Regions from separate parts of the Homo sapiens genome. Here region 2 is linked to region 1. The links are contacts of gene promoters, found by promoter capture Hi-C in blood cells and fetal thymus (Javierre and others, 2016). All regions are on one chromosome and are shown on one strand. The core of a region is centred on a gene start or on the middle of the fragment in contact, and the rest is flanking DNA. Distances in the headings are between cores, read along the strand shown. Region 1 holds the start of STARD13 (StAR related lipid transfer domain containing 13). Region 2 overlaps NBEA (neurobeachin).

Region 1 (6,884 bases), core at 902-3,401:
CTCACCTTTACTTGGTTTCCCAGAACATGTTCAATGTTCTCAAGTCCCATGCTCCCCTCTTCTTTCTCTCTCCACCCTCCTTCCATTCTCTTCCAGTAAAAAAGTGATAACCACCAAGTGTCTGCCTTGAACAAAAAGTTATGACACAGATGCTCCCAGTGTTGGACCATCAAGCCGAAAGCACGTGCACAAAGCAGCTGATGCAAGCACCTTAATTGGACGGCCACCGGTGCGGACTGAGCTGGGCTCATGAACCTTCCAGGCAGCCAACTTTGCAATATGGTGCTCGACCTTTCTCCATTCGAGCTTCTGCCGAGCAGTTCCTTAGGTCTCAGATCCCTTTCACCTTCCACAGACGATGCTATGGAACAGAAAAACTGCTGCTCAAATCCTAAATAAGAATGGAAAGTGCACAGTATGGCCCCATAGATCTTTCTTTCCCTTCCTGCCATGAAGCCAACCTGAAAACAAAGACATGATGACTCTTGTGTAACCACCCGAAGAGGCTGACAATTACCAACTACGTGAGGTAGTAGGCAATTGTCACATGCTGGGCTGCAGAGATCGTGCTTAACTTGTTTATTCTCATAGCGGGACAGTTATACAAGACGAGCTGCTTCTCAGAATCAGGCTAGCAACAATTCCCTCAGGGAAAGTTGTTAAGGCTTATGGGCCTCGGAGAGCCAGAGTAAGAAGAATCAAAGTCCTAATTTAAATCCTGTTAAACTTTTAATTTGGAAATAATGTAGAAATAATTTCTCATTATTAGACTATAAATTCCCAGCCAGGCTATGTTTCCGTCAGCCAAATGTAGAAGCAACTTGGTCATATACTTTTTGTATCAAAGAACTTTATTCTTTCAGCCCCAGGCTCAGAATTTGATAACATGTTTTCTGTGGACTTTTTCTCTTCACATCAAACAATGTTAAAGAAGAAAAACAGGGAAAATTATAATGACATATACATATATGTCACTCAGTGTGTGTATGTATATATATACACACATATATACACATATATATACACACATATATATATACACGTATATATATACACACACACTCAGATATGGCCAAACTGAATTACTAGCAGTTTGCTTAAACCATATACTCTGGTTCTGGATCTGCACACATGGGTACCTACAGTCTCTTGCAAAGCCCTCCCCAGCCTCTGCCTATCAGAATTCCCCCCATTTTAAAAAGCCTATCCAAATGTCTCTTTCTCTATCTGGCTTGCAATCATCACCCCAGTCAAAAATAATATTGCTCACCTAGCATTGTGTTTGCGTCCTTTTTGAGACATATATATGGCCTCATGTTAGAAGCTTTTGTATAACTTCTCAATGGGTCCTTAGCAGGTTGATGACAGTATCTTTGAAGTACCTTTGCAACTTCTGCAGTGATTCTTGTCTTAAATGATTCAGTGTCTTAAATGTGATAGGCACCTTCTAAGTATTTTACCTCTAGGTGATTAAAAATTGGGGAAGTAGAGAAATCAAAGAGGAAAGGATGCTTAATACGTAACGCGTGTGTACTTTGCCTCTCTGAGTCTTATCTGTAAGAGCCCTCCAATTCCCATCACGTGAGGGTCAGGATCTGTGGTGTATTCACTCCTGGTGTTAAAGCCCTTGAAGTTTATTTTTCACTGGAAAAGTTTTTATTTGAGTTGTTTCTTGATAATGAAGGTGGTGGCTTACGCTCAGCTGTTGATGCTTGTTTGAAGTAGTTTTTTTTTGTTGTGTTGTGTTTTTTAAATTTAAGAGATTTATCAGGTCCATCTTTTACCTGGCTGCTGCTGCCCTGTAGAAAGCGAAGGAGCTTTCTCTAACTTTGACAGGCTGAAAAGTTTCCTGAGCCCTGGACTTGTTTGTCTTCTACTTGTTTTGCCCTTCCCTCTCTCTTTTTCTTTCGACTCCTTTAGTGAGGGCTGCTTTTGGGTGCTTCGTCAGCTCTGAGGCACGTCAAATACGTGTATTTTGCTTTCAGCGTTGTGTGAGGGACCCTGGCGGCTGGAACTGCCTCTGGTCGGGGCTTAGGGCTGACTGCAAACGTTCCCATTTTCCTCTCTTCCTCTCATTGGTTCCCGAGGTCACGTGAGGGCCCCGGGGGTTGGAATTCTGAGTTGTGGCTTTGGCACTCCTCTTTCTTTTTAAAAATCGCTGGGTCTGTTGAGCTGTCCTGGGCTGGGTGCCTTGCTCTTTGACTGAGACTGGAGACAGACGGCAACAGCCACAGGCAGACTGAGGTGGCAATAGGAAATCTGCCGAGATGTTCAGTCAGGTGCCCAGGACCCCAGCCTCAGGCTGCTACTACCTAAATTCCATGACACCTGAGGGCCAGGAGATGTACTTGCGATTTGATCAGACTACAAGACGCTCTCCTTACAGGATGAGCCGGATTCTAGCACGCCATCAGCTAGTGACTAAAATTCAACAAGGTGAGTGGCCGGCAGTGGAAGGCTGTTGCTCATTCTGATTTCTGTTGGCTCTATTTCATGCTAACCCAGTTTTTTTTGTTTGTTTGTTTCCACTTTATAACATATGGATTTCTATGCCACACTACCCGTAACTTTGAAAAATAACTTTAGGCTGCAGTTTTCAGCAAACAGGACAGTCCTTAGCTGCCACATAGCTCAACATAAAGTGCACAAAAAACTTCACGGTGGGACAGTGAATCATAAATTCCCAAACTGACGTGTGTCTACAGAACAGATGAGAACTGTTACTCAGTGTGTATCTTAGGAGCTTTTCTGCAGTTTCCTCACACTCCGTCACATTTAAAATGTGGACACTTGTTTATTTCATTAGGGAGGAGGCGAGGGACTAATGTCCACCCTGCCCAGAGTATTTCGAATATCCTTAGTGAAGAGGAGGAAAGCAAGAATTCTGTTCTAAAGGCCACCAGGCTAAGCACTAGAATCGCATTCTCTTCCTGTTTGTATGTTTATGTCAGCAGTTGCCACAGATGTGTTAATATTGTTTTCCTGGTAGAGAATTAAGGTGTTCGTTCATCTCAAAACAAATCCCGTAACCTGCACACAAAACTCCAGCTTCCTAATGCAAAGAGAAGAGAATATTGATTATAAGCTGCTTGATATTCTTTTTATTCCCAGCCCCTCAAAATACCAGCCTGGAAGTCTGGACATTACTAAAATTTACCAGTCTCAAAAAAAAAAAAAATTTAAAACATGCTCCTTATAGGGTATATCAGTAGAAAGCAGAAAGACGAACATTCCTAAGAAGCCCCTAACACACACGTTTACAGTCAGTTAATGATCACCCTCCTCCTAGACTACAAAAAAGAAATTATTATATTGGTGCTAAATAAGTTAACCAGGAATTTTTAGAGCCGTTCCTAAGAAGCCCCTAACACACGTTGACAGTCAGTTAATGATCACCCTCCTCCTACACAACAAAAAAAGAAATTATTATATTGGTGCTAAATAAGTTAACCAGGAATTTTTAGAGCCATTATAAAAATACAGTTTCCACTTAAATAAATGAGTTTAAGATTATATTGAATATTAAAGAGGAAGTTGGGGTTTGTAATCATGAAAATCTTATTGTAATGTTTCCAGAAAGAACAATATGTATTCTAGCGGGCAGCATTTGATGAGATTGTTTCCTTGGAAATTAGGATTTGTTTGTAAAGGTTCAGGAACTAGTTATGTGTGAAGGATGCTGGTCCTTCCTACATGCTGGTCTGATTTCAGGAAGGATATTATGTCATTGCATAAACTCTGTGTCCAGGTCTTGATTGAATAGAAACAAAAGTAATTATTTCCCTGTGGCTAGATTTAAAAATACTTTAGGCTTAGAATAAAAACCAGCTCCACTTTGGTTTTAGAAATTTCTGACAATGGTGCCTTTCCAAATGCCATCATCTTTATGAACACCGAGGCTTAATGATGCGCTATCATCTACAAGATATAAATGTTCCTCAGCATGCATATCATATGAGAAATATTGCAGAGAACTAGCTGAAATTGCTTTGCAGACCTCCTTAGATGTATTTACAATAATTTATTTTATTTAAATATTATTTATGTTCTTTTTGGAATGAGGGTTATTTTTCCATTCAAGATTTGAAGTTGTGAACACATGCACTATCACTGAACGTGCCCTGTCACACAGACATATGGGCACCCTCAGTTTATGTTTCATTTTTGTCTAATTAGGTAATTTGAGAATTCCCTCTTTTTTATACTGGGCAATGGAGTGTTTGAAGTCAATGAATGCCTAACACTTAAAACTGACAGTTAAGATCACAGGGAAGCAATAAAGATTTCCAACAGTCTTGTGATTCAGAAATCATTATGTGTTAACATCATACAACTCTTTAGTAAGACAATGAGAAAGCAATGTGAAACAATTTTATTGAGTTTATTGTATTAGAAGATTGGTTTACTGTAATTTCAGAGAATGTGGATTAAACAGTTACAGCATACCAAAATCATTGTAGTTAATTTTTTTTATTATGCCCATTTTACAGATGAGAAAACAGAGGCACACAGATTTCAAGCATCTTATCCAAGGTCACCCAGTAGGAACTGATACTTGAATACAGCTTGACAGTCCATGCTCTGCAATACACTAGACTATTTTTTAGTTTTTATAATGAGTGCTAAAGTACTGAACCTATGATTGAGTTTCAGATTATATAATATACTAGAGACTTTTTAGACTTTTCTACTCAGGATACAGCAATACACTATATTATAGGACCAGAATTGGTCACTCATTATGAAATTTCCTGTCAGGTTATATTTCTCTAGTGGAAACAAAGTGCTACATGTTTTATTCTCTTTAACCAGTTACTACCCAATAACACAGGATGTCAAGTTATTTTACTAAAAGCTTTGTTTTCTTTTTGTTTTTGAGACAGAGTCTTACTCTGTCGCCGAGGCTGGAGTGCAGTGGTGTGATCATAGTTCACTGTAGCATTGACCTCCTGGGCTCAAGCGATCCTTCCACCTCAGCCTCCTCAGTAGCTGAGACTTACAGGAGTGTGCCACCATGCCTGGCTAATTTTTAAAACTTTTTTATAGAGACAGGGTCTCACTATATTGCGCAGGCTGGTCTCAAACTCCTGGGCTCAAGTGATCTTCCTACCTCAGCCTCACAAAGTGCGGGGATTACAAATGTGAGCCATTGTGCCCTGTCACTAACAGCTTTTAATCATTCCATTAATCATGTGCAAATAAAATTAATGACAGCATTATTTTCTGTAGTTTACAGGTTAGTATCTTAAAGTGACAGCCACATCACTAAAATTGTTTGCATTATTCTACTTTAGAGCTTTAAGATTTAGAATTATGTTAATTTGATTTAAGACATCATTACTTATAATTTCTCATGGTTGTTGGGAACAGTGGAAACAAGTAAGTTGCTCCCCACTGACCTCATTATAGTGAGATAATCATTGAATGGCGTGCACATGATTCAATAGCAGATACACTCATGGGGAGGAAAAACAAGGAGGAGAAATAAAGGAATCTTTGATGATGCATAGAATCAGAATTCATTATCCAAACCCAGGATGAATCTAAACTTGCTCATCTTAGGGTACACATCAAAACATACATGCATCATTTCTCTAGCCTGTTTTTTAGTTCTGGGGTTGCAATTCCATTTCAAAAGAGAGGAGATGTTTAAAAGAGGGTGTTGTTTTGCAGAGTGAAAGTTTATCATAAGTCATACTGCCCATAATCCCTACCCCACATTCTTGCTTGAATCAATAGGGAAATTGTTGTAGAGAGAGAGAATGGAAATAAGAATGGTCCTTATTTGCCTCACTGACTGGCGCTTGGGAGTGGATAGGAGAGAGGATGCTGGGGGTGGTGGAAGACCATGTTAGGCCAAGGAAAGGGAGAATTGGATTTTTTTCTAATTTTTTTTATTGTGGTAAAATACACAATACATTAATTTTGCCATCTTAACCATTTTTAAATGTATGGTTCAGTGGTACTTAATACATTCATAATTCATAATATCCAACCATCACCGCCATCCATCTCCAGAACTCTTTTCATCTTGCAAAACTGAAACTCCATACCCATTAAACAAGAATTCCTCATTCCTCCTCCTCTCGGCCTTTGGCAACCACCATTCAACTTTCTGTCTCTATGAATTTGACTACTTTAAGTACCTCATATAAGTGAAATCATACAGTGATTCACTTTGTGTGACTGGCTTATTTCACTTTGTACAATGTCTTTGAGGTTCATCCATGTTATAGCACATGGCAGGATTGCCTTCCTTTTTAAGGCTGGATAATATTCCATTGTATATCTATACTACATTTCACTTTCTGTTTTTTTATTAGTAGCCATCTTAATGGGTGTAAGGTGGGAGAATTGGATTTCTATGTCATTATTTGATGGTTTTGATTTATTAGTTCTACATCATTATTTGGTGGTTTTGATTTAGTGCAACATGATGGATGCACCATGTTTAAAGTCTACATACACACACACACACACACACACACACACACACACATATTTGGAAAACCCAAATGTAAGTAGAAACATAAATGTGATTGCTTGCTTTGTGAAAGAACTTATCACACTATTATACTTTTTATTTTATTTTAAATGCTTAGAAAACAGCATAATCCGGATTGCAGTCAAGTCCACTGAAGTAGGATAAGGAGACAGGCATCCAGGCTCTGTATAGAAGCTCCTTCGCTCCTTTACAGCGTTGAGTTCCAGAGCTTCACTGGACCTTTGGTTTTTGATGAGACAATGAAGTGGATGGACTATGATTGCTCAAGTTTATTCTGTGTCTCAGGTTCTGGAATCCTCTCTGTGGTTAAGTCAGCAACTCTTTGAACAGGATTGTAGAAAGCAGGGGAACATAAACGTAACATACTAGAACCTAAAAA
Region 2 (7,576 bases), core at 1,913-4,412, 1.9 Mb before region 1:
ATTAAGCCCTGAATTAAGCTCCATAATATTCAGTGTTCTGGATGGCTGACTAAAGTGGTCAACTTAAAATCACAAAGTGTGCAATTTGTGGTTGATCCATGTTCTTTGCTTTTCTTTTTCTTCTCCAATTTTTCACTTTCATTTATGACCAAGTTAAACAATATATTAGAGAATAAATGAGAGGATTCAATTAACTAGTCACAGAAACATCAACTAAAAAAATCAACAACAACAAAAATAATGCTGCTTTCCCAAAGCAAAGATTGGCCAAACTACATACTAAGAGGTCTATTTTTTTTCCCTGAGTACAGTTAAAACTATTGGTCTAACTCGGAGATCTGAAACTATTTTTGTAATTTATTTTCTATGCTACATATGAATTTAAGTAATCTGGGCAAAACTGAAACTCCCATAAAGTGCTGCTTCTTCAAGAGTACTAAGTTCAAGGTGCTCAAACTATCATTATAAACAATATATATATGTTCTTTTTTTCTTAAGTTTCCATTAAGATATGTACCTTCCAACTAAGATTAAACAGTTCAAAAATTTTCTTCCATGATGATGATACTATAACAGCAATACAAAAATGTTATCTCTAGTATAAATTACTGTACTCATCTAAATTTCCAGGGCAGAAAAGAGACCACTTCTATGTCAATCTCACAGAAACAGCAGACAAAAAATATTTGTTTATGTATTGTCTATTGCTGCTTTTGTACTATCACAGCAGAGTTGACTAGCTGTGACAGATAACAATACTGCCAATGAAACCTAAACTATTTCCCATCTGGCCCCATACACAAAAGTTTGTGAACTACTGCCATAAACCATTATTATTCCTATTTCTTCATAAAATGCACACAAGAATATTCTGAAAAACTATATATATATAAACAAAATTACCAGCTCACTCAAACCTTAGTTTCAAATGTTTCCATCTCTCTTCATATATCTAGGATTAAAATTCTAAAAGCACCTACAAGACAATGTTTCCTTTCAGTAATCTTCACGTTGCCAATGTTTCCTTTTTTCACTTATCCCTTCCAAAATTCTCTTTTGGCTTTTTACACTTTAAATTTAAATATAAAAAGCCCAAATATTCGGTTTAATTTCCCTCATTATTCAACCTCCTCTTTCCCAACTTTTTCCCTCTGCTATGTTACAACTTCTAGCAAGAATATTATACAACCCAGTAATACAAAAACAACATTCATAATAGAAAAACAACATTCAGCAGTCAGCACCAATCATAGTTCTACCAGATACAAAATGGGAGAAAGGTTCGGCTATTTCTCTTAAGGAAGCAATTCATTCTAAAAACATAAAATCAGCTATGTTGTACAACCAGGCATAGGTCCAAACAGTTAATGGGCCAAAATAACAGAAATATAGAAATTGAGAAAATAAACAAAGGTTTCTATAATTGAATGAATTCCCAAGTCTGTTGAGATAGTCTAGGTAATAAATAATTTTAAATTCCAAACTACAGTGGTCAAAATTGAATCGTAATAATTTTGGAAGCCAACCTCAAAGCGTCAGTATCTTTACTGTACAATCATCATAAAACAAATAAGCAAATTTGACTGGTGCAATAGTATGTATGTTATAGTTTACTTCATTACTTTAATATTCTATCTTAATAGTTAAAGATCTTTTGCCTTTAAAATTTGGAAAACTATTTAGTAATGTGAATATTTTAAACCTATACAAATTGAAATAACTTATTGCTAAACTGTTTTTTTTACATAAGAAGCATTTTATGTTCCATGCAAAATTTAAAAACATTCAATATTACATTTCAAAGTGAATTTCAATACAACCTTTTAAAAATTTCTTCATAACAAATGATAATTTATAAAACAAAATGCAATTTATATGATCAAGAAAAATGTCACAAAGAAAATATTGATTTATTCAGTCTTCAATATATAAAACAAAAAACACGTTGGCCGGGAGCAGTGGCTCATGCCTGTAATCCCTGCACTTTGGGAGGTTGAGACAGGCAGATCATTTGAGGTCAGGAGTTTGAAACCAGCCTGGCCAACATAGTGAAACCCCATAACTACTAAAAATACAAAAATTAGCTGGGTGTGGTGGTGCACACCTATAATCCCAGCTACTTGGGAGGCTGAGGCAGAGGAATTGCTTGAACCCAGGAGGCGGAGGTTGCAGTGAGCTGAGATCGCCCTACTCTGCTCCAGCCTGGGTCACAGAATGATACTCTGTCAAAAAAAAAAAAAAAGAAAAGAAAAGAGAAGAAAAAAATGCCCTCTATGTCTCACTATTAGAAAGCATTTTAAAAATCATACACAACTCTCAATTTACCAGAATTTGGTATAAATCACCAGAGGAAAAGAGAGATTAAAGAAAAGGAGTGGTGTATGTATACTTGCACTCTTCACACACCATCAACAATTTATACTGTTCTTCTTAGCTCCATTTCCTTGGTTCAGCTGCTAATTTGATTAAGGCCCTACTGGTGACTTGCTCTGTTGCATTCCTCCTTCTGAACTGGAATGCTTCCCTTTGTGGACTTCTTGAGCAAATTCATGAATAAAACAGAAGAGTAAGGCCTGGGGAAAGTGTGTGAGGATATAGCCTATGGCTGCTAATGTTGAAGTTTCAAGGCTGCTCTGGTGATGGTGGTGGCATTAACAAAAGAACAGTAAGAAAAAGAGTCATGTAGAAAAAGCTTGTTAATGATGAAATACACTTAGAGATCAACTTGGAAACAGTGTCTCACCAACTAAAGCACATCTTAGTAAAATGAAATATTTCCCTCTGGCAAAGGTATGCTTTCTGAGCTTAAGGATGAGTTTCTAATACGGCAACAAGAACGTGGGTAATATGGGAAGCAAAATTCTATATTCTTTCCCATCTGAGCAAGTAGCTATGGAGTCTGCCTTGGTCTGAATCAAAGAATTTGTTTTTAATGACAACTAAAATACAAAGTTAACATTGACCTATTTTATTTTAAATGACATACACAATTAACATTAAATGCCTTTAAAATGTATTATATTAACACATTTCAATGTTTTATATAGAAACAAATCAAGACAAGGCTAGATTTTGTAAAATAAATGTTGAATCAGTAAATAAATGAAAATGTTAAATAACAAGGATTTTAAGAGTTTATTTATACTACAGATTTGAAGAGATATACAATATCTTTGATGAAGAATGCAATACTCTTCTGATGAAGTATTCATCAGAATTACCAGAGAAACATTTTCATAAGCACACACAGCTGGAACCCAACACTGATAAACAAAAGTGGTGGAAATAGAAATTTAAATGGTTAAAAATTTGCCTAAAAAGTACAGGTCTGGTTAAAATGTGTTTATAGCCTAGACCACCACTGAAATGCTAAAGTCATGTATTTATAAAATATAACCACTAGATGGAGGCAAAGTACTTACAGTTGGTGATGTAGCAGCAGAGAGCAAAGGTAAAATTCCTCCACAAGCAATGATGATGTTGTCTACCATTTGGGAAATGAGGTGAATTGTGTTATGTACAAAAATAATATTTTCATTGCTATTGACAAAATCCATTACAGACTTTGTAGAATGGCTAAAATACAGAAAACAGAAATGAGTATGTTTTGGCTTACTTAAATGAAAAGCTTAGACAATTAGAATAACAAGTGAAAAATTATAGAACTGTAGGAGCTAGCTATATTTAAAATTAAATTATAAAATAAAGCAATTTATAATTGAGATATCATATTACCAAAAACTAAGCATTCATCTCCACAGGATTTTGTTGTATCCAAGTATATTAACTCATTATATTATTACTTTGCTTGAAAAATACAGTACTAGATTCTAAGACATATGACTGACTCAACAAATTTGGCTAAAAATATTTATTTTGCCAAATCTGATTGTTTTTTGTTGAAAGGCAAAACCTTTTAAATATAAAAAGTATGTCTAATGTTAAAAATAATATGGAAACTCAAAATATAACCAATTCAAAATTTTCATAACCATAAATAAAATTTGAAACCGAAAACCTAAAAATTTAACTGAAAGTTCTATTTTGTAGGCAGTTTCAATTTGTCACATCCCCAATGACTTCAGCCCCACCTTTGACTAGTCACATTGAAATGTATACTGCTAAAGAAGTGACATGATAGGGGAGTATAAATAAATCAGTACAAATTCAAGAACTTATTTAATAAGAAAAGGAAAAAATCTCAAAGTAAGTTGGTAGTACAGTGTTCTCATACAAAACATACAATGTAGATGTCAAAAAAATACCCTGCTTTCGTTTGGTGTCAGTCAAGAATATAATTTTTTTTTTTTTTTTGAGAAAGGATCTCTGCTGTCACCCAGGCTAGAGTGTAGTGGTGGGATCATGGCTTAGTGCATCCTCAACCTCCCTGGGCCCAGGAGATTCCCGAGTAGCTGGGACTACAGGTGGACACCACCACGCCTAGTTAATGTTTGTAAAAACAGGGTCTTGCCCTGGTCTCGAACTCCTGAGCTCCAGCTATCCTCCCGCCTTGGCCTCCCAAAGTGCTGGGATTATAGGTGTGAGCCACCACACCTAGCCTGAACTGTTTTTTAATGGGAAAAAAATAAGATTAAAAAAAAGAAATTACTTCATGGTCAAAATTGAGTCAATAATTCTCACCCTTTTAGAGTTGTGAATTATTATCTATCACTGTGTATCTTAAATTTCAAGATGTTTCTCTCTGTCCTAAAAATAAAGTGTTACCTTTAAAAAATTTAAATTACATTAAATTCTACCTGGGTAATTTCATGAGAGCCCATTAAAGAAAACAAAAACACAGAGTAGGTGGTTGGAAAAAAAGCTGAGTATCACTCACTTGGAGGCTACTGATATTATAATTATCAAATTACATAATTTATCTCCATACATTGGTCTTCATGTTAATAGCAATGTATTTCATGGTATTTAGGTTTCCTCAGTTACCATCTCTAGGTAATTTATCATATAACAATTAGCAATGAAAGTATATGAGTAGTCTAAGAACAAATTGATCAAATAAAATCAAAAGTAAAATCTTTCTATGGCAGACTTTATTGACTTCTTCCACAACAGTCATAACTTTTTCCCTGCTAACACACATTTTATATTTTGTTTTATTATTGAGCTTGACTGGGTATAGGAAAGACTAGCCTAACCCTAGTTACTAGTTAATTAACCAGTATTAGTCTCTAAAAGCCAGTCATTATAATCCCATTTTCTTTTTCTGATGATTGATTTTGAAAGAGGATGTGATCCTGCTGGCTCACGAGATATAAGGGGGAAATTTCTTGACGGGCTTCCTTTAAAAAAAAGAAGAAAAGAGGAGAAGAAAAAGAGAAAGTGAAAGAGGAGAGAGAAGAAGAGGAGGCAGAGGAAAAACAGGAAGAAGAGGAAGGAAGAAGAGTCATCTCTGCCTTTTAATTTGGGCAGGTTTCTTATGAATTGAGGTTGGGAGCTGAAGCAGCCACCTTGAATCCTAAAAGGAAAATGAGGAGAAGCATGGAAGCCAACATTTCTAAGAATGTTGTGCTAGATCATTTAAGTTGCCCTTGCTACTTATATCCATCGACTTCCTAATTGTATTCATGCCTATGTAAATGATGTGCTCTCTTAATTAATTTGTTTCACATTTACTATTAAAAAATTAAATTGAAAATTTAGAAAGGCCATGGTTTACTTTATGTAGATTTGTTGTCTAAGTTATCATCTTTGAACTGATATCCACTAACTGCTTAAATACTACAGGCTCTGAATACACATGTCACAGGGTGATTTTAAACTTAAACAGTATATATTATTATCACTAATAAATTTAGTACATGGTATTAATTTAAACAAGATACAAGAAAAATGTGGAAATTCCTTTAATCAAGGCAGATTTTTGGTTTTGTCAAAACCAAATAGAATAGGCAATGGCATATTTTAAATATTTGCTTTTAATTTATAAAAAAGAAATATTTCTACCTCCTCCAAACATGTACATCAGTTTCTAATGCAAATAGTAAATCAGTGAGAAGCCGCTGGTGCATTGGAGACCATTTAAACTCAGGAATACGAAACATTGTAGTCCGTGGACCTGGGCTAAACTGGCGTCGCTGTTCCTCAGTCATTGGCATTCCTCGAAATCCTAAATCAACTCGGAGATCTCGGTCTTGTTGGGTGATAGACCGACCCTGCACAGCCTAAAGAAGGAAAAGATGAACTTTTGTGGAATACAAAAGAAATGCCTCATTTTAAAATGAAACTGTGAGTATAGTAAAGTGAATAATGCTTTAATGCTTTAGCATATGACTTTAGCAGTTTAATATATTTCACATATATTATTCACCTGGTAATTCCTTGCACAGGAAACTTTTTGGGCTGAAGTCTCCATTATTGCTTTTATTTTACTATTGCAGAAACTAGGCAAGATAATCAAATACCTAAAGTTAACACCAAAGTTCACACTGAAAACCAGACCCCTTTACCCCATTAAGAGTCTTTAAATTAGACCACATTACTTCCTTAATGAAGTGAGCATATACACAGTGAAGTATACTGGATATATGTCATCAACTAATTGTAACTAAAGCACAAGATTAGAAAAAATATTACTTGACAGTTTCAAGTTAACTTTGAAGTCTGTTTCACTTACAGTACTTCAATTCAAAAACACAAATGCATTTGATAAGTTAGAAAACAAACCAGAAAAATGTCTATAAACTCCAAATGAAAAACAGGCAAGCCTAGTGTTCAACAGGCAAGCCTATTGTTCAATAAACAACGCACGATGTTTTCCTTTATTTTACATCTGTATCTAATTCAATATGCTCATCTCCTGCCAATTATCACTACAATGCAACTGCCACAAAAATGGAAATTGGCAGTTAGAGAAAAAATAAAAATACTTTCCCCACACACGATATATTATGAAGGATTCTTACTGGAGTACAAAGACACAAGACAGGCATGGTTTACTCTTCATAGTATAAACCTAATGGAAACACATTCAATGTATTTTCAATGACATTAAAAGGCAAGTGGGGCACCCAGAGGATAACAAAACCCAAGTCATTAACGGTAAATGTATTCTTATTTCTTCAACTCTTAACCATAAGGTATTATTTATCCTAGAAAATAAAGAAACAGTCATAACTCAGAGCTCAACAATTAAAATCCATATCAGAAAACATCATCTGTTTTTAGCTTTATTCCAGTGAGGTCAAAACTGAAGCACTAACATTTCCTAACAACCAGACCTAAGAGTCTTTAATTGTCTTATAACAAATTTCTATTCATGTGGTTGAACAGAAAATTCTCACTGCTAACAATTCTAATTTTTCTCAGCCATATTACCTACCTCACAGGGTTGTTGTGAGGATTAAATCTGAAAACATATAGCACAGTGCCCGGAACATAGTAGGCACTGGATAAATAACAGTTCCCTTTTCCCTTCCCCTTCATTTATCAGTTCAATCTGGGCTCCAAGTCCTCTTTTCTATAATCCACAGAACAGGGTTGGGCCTGAAGCTTAAAAGGTTAAAATTAATCAAGTATTCAGAATGAAGATCTTGAGTACAAAATGTGTAAATGTAGT

Evidence for each region. Contacts are between HindIII fragments. The CHiCAGO score rates a contact against its expected background, and 5 or more counts as called.
Region 2: a contact is called between a fragment that was not itself captured here and the fragment with the promoter of STARD13 in region 1, in 1 of 17 cell types (M0 macrophages). The highest score is 5.4, in M0 macrophages.

What each region holds. Positions count from the first base shown.
Region 1 is chr13:33,281,022-33,287,905 of GRCh38, reverse strand. It overlaps STARD13 (StAR related lipid transfer domain containing 13), which reads left to right and starts at 2,151. Exons shown (of 14, transcript NM_178006.4): 1 at 2,151-2,436. The coding sequence starts at 2,268. It overlaps STARD13-AS (STARD13 antisense RNA), which reads right to left. Exons shown (of 3, transcript NR_046693.1): 3 at 6,572-6,877. RefSeq lists enhancers at 1,849-1,978, 1,989-2,048. The HindIII fragment of the contact is 3,531 bases long and covers 1,327-4,857 here.
Region 2 is chr13:35,160,356-35,167,931 of GRCh38, reverse strand. It overlaps NBEA (neurobeachin), which reads right to left. Exons shown (of 59, transcript NM_001385012.1): 23 at 5,965-6,182; 24 at 3,423-3,576. Among named protein-coding and RNA genes, the nearest start is that of NBEA, 220 kb to the right of the region's middle. The HindIII fragment of the contact is 936 bases long and covers 2,695-3,630 here.